Regions from separate parts of the Homo sapiens genome. Here region 2 is linked to region 1. The links are contacts of gene promoters, found by promoter capture Hi-C in human tissues and cell types (Jung and others, 2019). All regions are on one chromosome and are shown on one strand. Each heading gives the region's core, a stretch centred on a gene start or on the middle of the fragment in contact. The rest is flanking DNA. Distances are from core to core; before and after follow the strand shown.

Region 1 (3,701 bases), core at 766-3,265:
CTCAGCCTCCTGAGTAGCTGGGATTACAGGCACCTGCCACCACGCCCAGCTAATTTTTTGTATTTTTAGTAGAAACAGGGTTTCACCTGTTGGCCAGGCTGGTCTGGAACGCTTGACCTCGAACTCAGGTGATCTACCCACCTAGGCCTCCCAAATTGCTGGGATTACAGGCATGTGAATCACCACGCCCGGTCTTTTTATTTTTTGTAGAGATTTGATGGTGGTGGTGGGGGCTCTTACCATGTTACCCAGGCTGTACTTGAACTTCTGGGCTCTAGCAATCTGCCTGACTTGGCCTTCCAAAATTCTGGGATTACAGGCATGAGACAGCATGCCTTGCCTGGAGTGTATCTTTTTTTTTTTTTTTTTTTTTTTGAGATAGAATCCTTCTCTGTCACCCAGGTTGGAGTGCAGTGGTGCAATCTCACCTCACTGCAACCTCCACCTCCCGGGTTTAAGCGATTCTCATGCCTCAACCTCAAGAGTAGCTGGGATTTATAGGCGTGTGCCACCATGCCTGGCTAATTTTTGTATTTTTTGTAGAGATGGGGTTTTGCCTTGTTGGTCTTGAACTCCTGACCTCAAGTGATCCCCCACCTTGGCCTTCCAAAGTGCTGGGATTACAGGTGTGAGCCACCAAGACTGGCCACCCCCATTTTAGGACAAGAGAAGAGAGGTGATAAGGAACTGCTATTTCAAAAAGATGAATGGGAGGGAAGGGACCAGAAAGTGACATCATCAGGGAACACTTGATTCAGGCATGGGTAGCAAGTTCAGTTACCTTACTCCTGGCAGCAACAGGATTGGGGGAGGGGGTCTTGGAGAAGATTTTGTCTGCAAATGTCGCAACACTGTTGCAGTGTGAGTATGACCCAAAGTGCTTGGCAGGGGGACAGGCCTGCTGCTTCCCTGCATTCTGGGCTGACCTCTTCACCTGAGTCGGTCAGTGGACGCTTTTGGCCTCCTTCCTGGAGCTAGACAGCTGTTAGGCTTAGGGAGCAGCTCCGGACCTACAGGGTTGGGGTGCAGGTAGGGAGGGAGGCTGCAGCATGTCAGAGTGGTAAATACATGTCCTGATTTCCAGGACTGATTTCACATATTCTGCCCCACAAGTTCACCAGCACCTGTCAGATTGGATGTCCCAGTTTTTGGTTTGGAAAATTCGATCTGTCTCAGGTAATGGAGAAGGGGGAGACAGCAGTTCATTCATTCCAGTGTCTAAGCCTGTGGTTGGTGGGAACAAGAGACTGTCTGGGATGGCTCCAGCCCTTCGCTGGAATCTCGCATTGAATTCCTAGCTCCGCCCTGATCCGTGCTGAGGCGAGCAGGTGAGTGGGACGGACAGCGCTGTGCCTGCACCCTCCTAGCCCCACTTGCTTACCGCGGCCCCTGCCTTATCCCACACTGGGAAGTATGCTCTGTTAGCCTCGGCTCAGCCTTGCCTCATCGGCCCAGTGGGGAGAGTCCAGGGAGGAGAGAGGCTCCACGTGCTAAAGGAAAGCGGCCTGCCAGACACTGCTGCTTAAGGAGACTGTCTAAGCAATCGGATTCGGTGCGGCCGAGATGCAGACGTCCGTTTCTCCCAAGGGAAGGAGCAAGGGTACTCCAGGTCCCAAAGCTGCGTTACAGCCAGTTGGGCTAATCCTACCCGCCCCTCCCCCAACTCCCCGAGTGGCAATCTGTCCAGCCCCTCAAGCGATCAGGCCACAACCCCCAGCACCGCGCGTTCTCCTCCCAGCCTAGCCCGGCCCATCTCCCCACCCGGGGCCCCGCCCCGGCCCCGCAGGCTCCCAAGAGGCGGTGGATGGGCCAGCGGGACTACAAGTCCCAGCAGGCCCCGGGGCCCGCCCTCGTGGGGCGGAGCCAAGCCAGCAGCGAATTGGGAGGAGCCCTGGCGCTCAGGCTAGGGAACGCGTGTGGCCAATCGCGGGGCCGTTCTCGCCGCGAGCCGATGGGGGCGGGGAAAAGTCCGGCTGGGCCGGGACAAAAGCCGGATCCCGGGAAGCTACCGGCTGCTGGGGTGCTCCGGATTTTGCGGGGTTCGTCGGGCCTGTGGAAGAAGCGCCGCGCACGGACTTCGGCAGAGGTGAGCACGGGAGGCTGTTTTCGCTGGCTGGAGCCCGCTCGCCCTAGGAGCTTCCTGCCTCCGTCCCCCAACCCGGAACCGCCTTCCCCGACGCGGGCTCGGTGCCCACGCGCCCTGCTCGGAAGTTTTGAGGGTCTTAGCTTTAGGTTAGCCTTCGCCCGGGGTCCCGGCCGGTGGCCGCGTGTCGACGCCCCTCCCCTCCCCCCGCGCGACACACACATATTCCAGTTCCTGGGAGTTTGCATGGGGCTTGCCGCCATCCTTGCCTCTTCTGCCTCTGCCACATTGCATGGTCCCCCTCCTGGCGCGCCTCACCCCTCCCGGGCACAGCTATCGAGGCTCCTCGGGCTCATCGGGACGCCTTTTGGCTCCATCCGGGTTCCCCCATCGGATGCCGGGACGGGAAGTAGAGAAAGCGGTGGCGACTGGTCCCACTCCGATTCCTCACTGGCCGGGCTCAGGCCCTTCTTGGTTCCGTGGGTACAAAATTGAGCTCCACGCCCAAGTGGAGAGAATGAGCTATGCGCGCCTCCGGGGCGGGCCACGCGGGGCCAGGCTGCCCCAGGGTGCCCGAGGCCTCGCCTCGTCTCGCCGCGAGGACTGGAATCTCGCAGCAAGGACCCTCCTCGCACTGGAGGTATCGTCGAGTCCAGCCCCTAAGTGACAGATGGCCGGGGTGCCACCCCACCCTTGAGCTGACGCCAAGTCTGGCCGGGGAAAGGTCCTCAAGGGGCTGGAGGATGCTGCCGCCGCCCTCCTGTCGAGCCTGGCAATGGGCCAGTCCCAGCGCCTGCCGCGGTCTCCAACCTTGGCAGATACCGTGCAGTGCCGAGTTCTGCCGTTATGGGGTCCCTGGAGGTCTTCCTGGGAAGAGGATTTTGGAAGAGACGATAAGGAAAAGTGCACAGCACAGTTTGGCCAGCTAGCCTACTCCTCTCCACCCTTAACTTTCCTCTGTGTTTTCAGCTGGCTCAGCTGAACTAAAATGTGGGGTGAGGGACAGCTGGTAGGTCTCATTTGCCCAGATGGGTGATTTTCACCTCTTAGAAACCTTCCTAAACAGCTTGGGGGGCGGTAGTGGGAAGACCCCTCAGACACTGGACAGCTTATGGCTCCATCCCCGTTCTGACACTATGCCTGCCGCAGTAAGGGGCACTCACAGAATTCTGCCTCTCTAGAATTTACTCCAGGGATTGCCTGTCTTCTCAAAAAATAAATAAATAAATACCTACATACGTAAGTCCCAATCCTGCAGATACTAACCTTCAAATGAGTGTTTTTGTCTTTCCCAGAGGCACCCTTAGTAGCATCCCCAGTGATTCCCTTCCCCTGGCTGTGTCCCAGGGGCGTGTTCTGGGGAACAGGCTTCTTTCATTCAGCCTCCTGTGTGGGCTGCTTCTCTCAGTGTCTGCTAAAAGTGAACTCAATCCTGGGTCACTCACCCGTCTGCAGAAAGACTCCATTCAGCTCATAAGGCCCCTCCCTTAGAGAATGTGTGTATGTGTGTGTTTTCAGGTTCCTTGGCATGATTTCCCCCAAATGGTTTACACATTTAGCTGTTACCAAGTAACAGTTCCTGGAGTCCAAGCTCAGCCCAATCATCTGTTACTTGTTT
Region 2 (3,948 bases), core at 520-3,019, 1.6 Mb after region 1:
AATCATAAAGTCTCAAACTGTGGCTGGGTGTGATGGCTCACGTCTATAATCCTAGCACTTTGGGAGGCCGAGGCGGGAGGATTGCCTGAGCTCAGCAGTTGGAGACCAGCCTGGGCAACATGATGAAACTCCATCTCTACTAAAAATACAAAAAATTAGCCCGGTGTGGTGGCGTGTGCCTGTAGTCCCAGCTCCTCAGGAGGCTGAGGCACAAGAATCACTTGAACCTGGGAGGTGGAGGTTGCAGTGAGCCCAGATTGTGCCACTGCACTCCAGCCTGGGCAACAGAGAGAGACTCCATCTCAAATACATAAATAAGTAAAAAAATAAAGTCTCAAAGCCTTTGCTTACATAGTAACCTACCACACCAATCAGCTTGAGCTTGGCTTCTCCTCTTCCCTTCTTATTGCTAGGCTAGGTTAGGAGCCCTCCTCTGCACTTCCACTGCAGCTTGTGCATACCTACCACTTGAATAGACTATTATAATTATTTATTCTGTGTGCTCTTTCCCCAGTATACTGTGTACCCCTTGATGTCAGAGCAGTTCCTCCTTCTGGGTTCCCAAGTTCAGCCAAATGTACAGCACACAGCAGGTGCTCAATCAATGTTTGCTGAATAAACCAAATTATATGCTTTGCTCTTGTGACTCCCCTCACAATATTCTGATATCCCCCCTTCCCTTACTACCAAATCCTCCCTACCCTTCAAGGTTCAATCCAAGTCCCATCTTCTCAAGGCTTTCCCAAAGCAATCCATTTTCTTCTGAGTCCCTCCACCTCTGCTCTCCCACAGCATATACAGGCTATGTCACTTACTCTAATATCAATGAGCGATTTTCAAAATATATACAGCAGATTCATTGTGGGAAGTTACATATGTCCAGTAACAGTCTCATTGCTCAAACACTGCAAACACCTCTTTTGGAATTGCCTCCAAAGCAAGTTTATCAGTCAGAGCTGTAAACACTATTATATGATGGTCACATTTCATTTCTGAGGTCGCCCCACCACCATCACCAATGAAAATATTCATACCTATGCCAGGCACGGTGGCTCACGCCTGTAATCCCAGCACTTTGGGAGGCCGAGGCGGGAGGATCACCTGAGGTCGGGAGTTCGAGACCAGCCTGATCAACATGGAGAAACCCAGTCTCTATTAAAATACAAAAATTAGCCAGATGTGGTGGTGCATGCCTGTAATCCCAGCTACTCGGAAGGCTGAGGCAGGAGAATTGCTTGAACCCAAGAGGCGGAGGTTGCGGTGATCCAAGATCGTGCCATTGCACTCCAGCCTGGGCAACAAGAACAAAACTCTGCCTCAAAAAAAAAAAAAAGAAAATGTTCATACCTATGTCTGAATCTGCTTTTTGGTGATTCCAAAAATCAAATTCACTCTTAAAAGATGAAAATTTGCCACCAAGTAGAAGGTAACGTCAAAAGCATGTGTCAAGAAATGGCAATATGACTGGAATATAATAGATTCTAACGTGTTTGTCTTACTCCTATGCTCTGTATTAACTAACAATAATAGCAGCTACCATTTATTGGGTATCTATTATGTTCCAGGCATTTTCGGTGTATTAAATCTTTAAAAAGTCTTATAGCCACACATGCGAAGTATGTAATATTATCCCCATTTCACAAATGAGAAAACTGGGACTCAGGTTATTTGTTTAAGGTCACAGATCAAATAAAAATAGGCAAGGCACATGTCTGCTCTTTCTACTCTCCCACACTGCTTTTCGTAACTCCCAGTATTCTGCATAGTATCTTCCCAACCAGATTTACAATCCAGTGGCTTGGAAGTGCATCTTTTGGTATCTAGGCCATGTTCAATTTTTTTTTTTTTTTAAGAGACAGGGTCTCACTCTGTCACCCAGGTTAAAGCGCAGTGGTGGAATCATAGCTCAGTGCAGCTTCAAACTCCTGGGCTCAAGCAATGCTCCCGCCTCAGCAAAGGGCTGGGATTATAGGCATGTGCCACAGCACGTGGCCCAATAAATAGTTGTGACCTAAATAGTATGTGAAGAGACTACTCAGCTTAACAGACAAAACTGTTTTTAGTAGTAAAACGGTATCTTGGCTAGGCATAGTGGCTCACATCTGTAATCCCAACACTCTGGGAGGCTGAGGCAGGCAGATTGCTTGATGCCAGGAGTTCGAGATCAGCCTGGGCAACATGATGAAACCTCACCTCAAATTTTAAAAAAGTACAAAAATTAGCCAAGCGTGGTGGCACACGCCTGCAATCCCAGATATTCTGGAGCCTGAGGTGGGAGGAGCTTGAACCTGGGAGATGGAGGCTGCAATAAGCCAACATCGCGCCACTGCACTCCAGCCTGGTGACACAGCAAGACTGTCTCAAAGAAAAGAGTATCTTATTATTCCTCCTGATTACTATCAGAATTGCTGTAGTGACTATAGTTAAGCATGTAACACAGTAATAGAATAACATACACACACACACACACACAATCTGGCACAATAAGCCCAATAAATGTTTTTGCTTCCCGTAAGACACACTCAGAATGTCAACTCTTCCTCACTGTTTCCAAGCTTTGTTCAGTAGAAACAGGGGACACTAGATGCAATAATTAAAGAGAAATCTTGTAACTCCCAGCAGATCTCTGAGCCTTGTTTTGATTCCAAATCTACTCAAACTAAAGCTCTTTAAGAATAGAAGCTTCTTTAAGCCCTCAAAAATATTCCCTAAAACCCAGATTCCTCAAGGCCCTGAGAATTTGTATCTACTCCTAGGCCAGGGCAGCAAGGTAAACAGGGTTAGCCAGGTTCACAAGGACACCGACACCAGCTAGACACCAGGCAGGTGACAGCGATGAGACGACCTGGAATGGCAAAATAGAGCAGGGTAAGAGTGATCTGTTTGGCTTCTCCAGCTCCCTCCCTCATCCCAGCCAGGTTCTGCTGTCTCCAATAAGCTTCTGGGCTCTTTGTCAGATCCAGTTATTTTTCTTTTTTTTTTTTTTTTTTGAGACGGAGTCTCGCTCTGTCCCCCAGGCTTGAGTACAGTGGCACGATCTCGGCTTACTGCAAGCTCCGCCTCCCGGGTTCATGCCACTCTCCTGCCTCAGCCTCCCCAGTAGCTGGGACTACAGGCACCCGCCACCACGCCCGGCTCATTTTTGTATTTTTAGTAGAGAGACAGGGTTTCACCGTGTTAGCCAGGATGGTCTCAATCTCCTGACCTCATGATCTGCCCGCCTCAGCCTCCCAAAGTGCTGGGATTACAGGCATGAGCCACCGCACCCGGCCCCAGATCCAGTTTTAAGACTGTTTCAAGTGACAGAGCCAGAACTCCAGTCCCTAAAAAACAATTTCCAAAAGAAGTCCTGGGATGGGAGACAGGCTTTTGTAATCCAAGATTAACCCTAATTTTGAGAAAAGTATGATGGTTTCTATTTTTCTCAAATTCCCTTAAAAATGGACAGTGTTGGCGGGTGCAGTGGCTCATGCCTATAATCCCAGCACTTTGGGAGGCCAAGGCAGGCGGATCACAAGGTCAGGAGATAGAGACCATCCTGGCTAACATGGTGAAACCCCATCTCTACTAAAGATACAAAAAAATTAGTCGGGTATGGTAGCGGGTGCCTGCAGTCCCAGCTACTCGGGAGGCTGAGGCAGGAGAATGGCGTGAACCTGGGAGGTGGAGCTTGCAGTGAGCCGAGATCGCGCCACTGCACTCCAGCCTGGGCGACAGAGCAAGACTCCATCTCAAAAAAAAAAAAAAAAAAAAAAGACAGTGTTTTACTCTGCAAAGAAAAAATTCTTGAAACAAACTCTATGAACCAATAATGCTAGTTTTTGGGTTTTGGGGGGGCGGGTTTTGAGGCAGGGTCTTGCTCTGCTGCCTAGGCTGGAGTGCAGTGGCGTGATCTCAGCTCTCTGCAGCCTCTGCCTCCTGGGCTCAAGTGATCCTCCCATCCTAGCC

Evidence for each region. Contacts are between HindIII fragments. The study calls those that stand out against the background at their distance.
Region 2: a fragment that was not itself captured here is called in contact with the fragment with the promoter of ACLY in region 1 in 1 of the 25 tissues and cell types used here (spleen).

The regions. Positions count from the first base shown.
Region 1 is chr17:41,917,265-41,920,965 of GRCh38, reverse strand. ACLY (ATP citrate lyase) reads left to right here and starts at 2,015. Exons shown (of 29, transcript NM_001096.3): 1 at 2,015-2,086. RefSeq lists silencers at 1,633-1,892, 2,373-2,612. The HindIII fragment of the contact is 39,518 bases long and covers 1-3,701 here.
Region 2 is chr17:40,269,408-40,273,355 of GRCh38, reverse strand. All of the region lies in intron 5 of WIPF2 (WAS/WASL interacting protein family member 2), which reads right to left. Among named protein-coding and RNA genes, the nearest start is that of CDC6, 16 kb to the left of the region's middle. The HindIII fragment of the contact is 6,236 bases long and covers 1-3,948 here.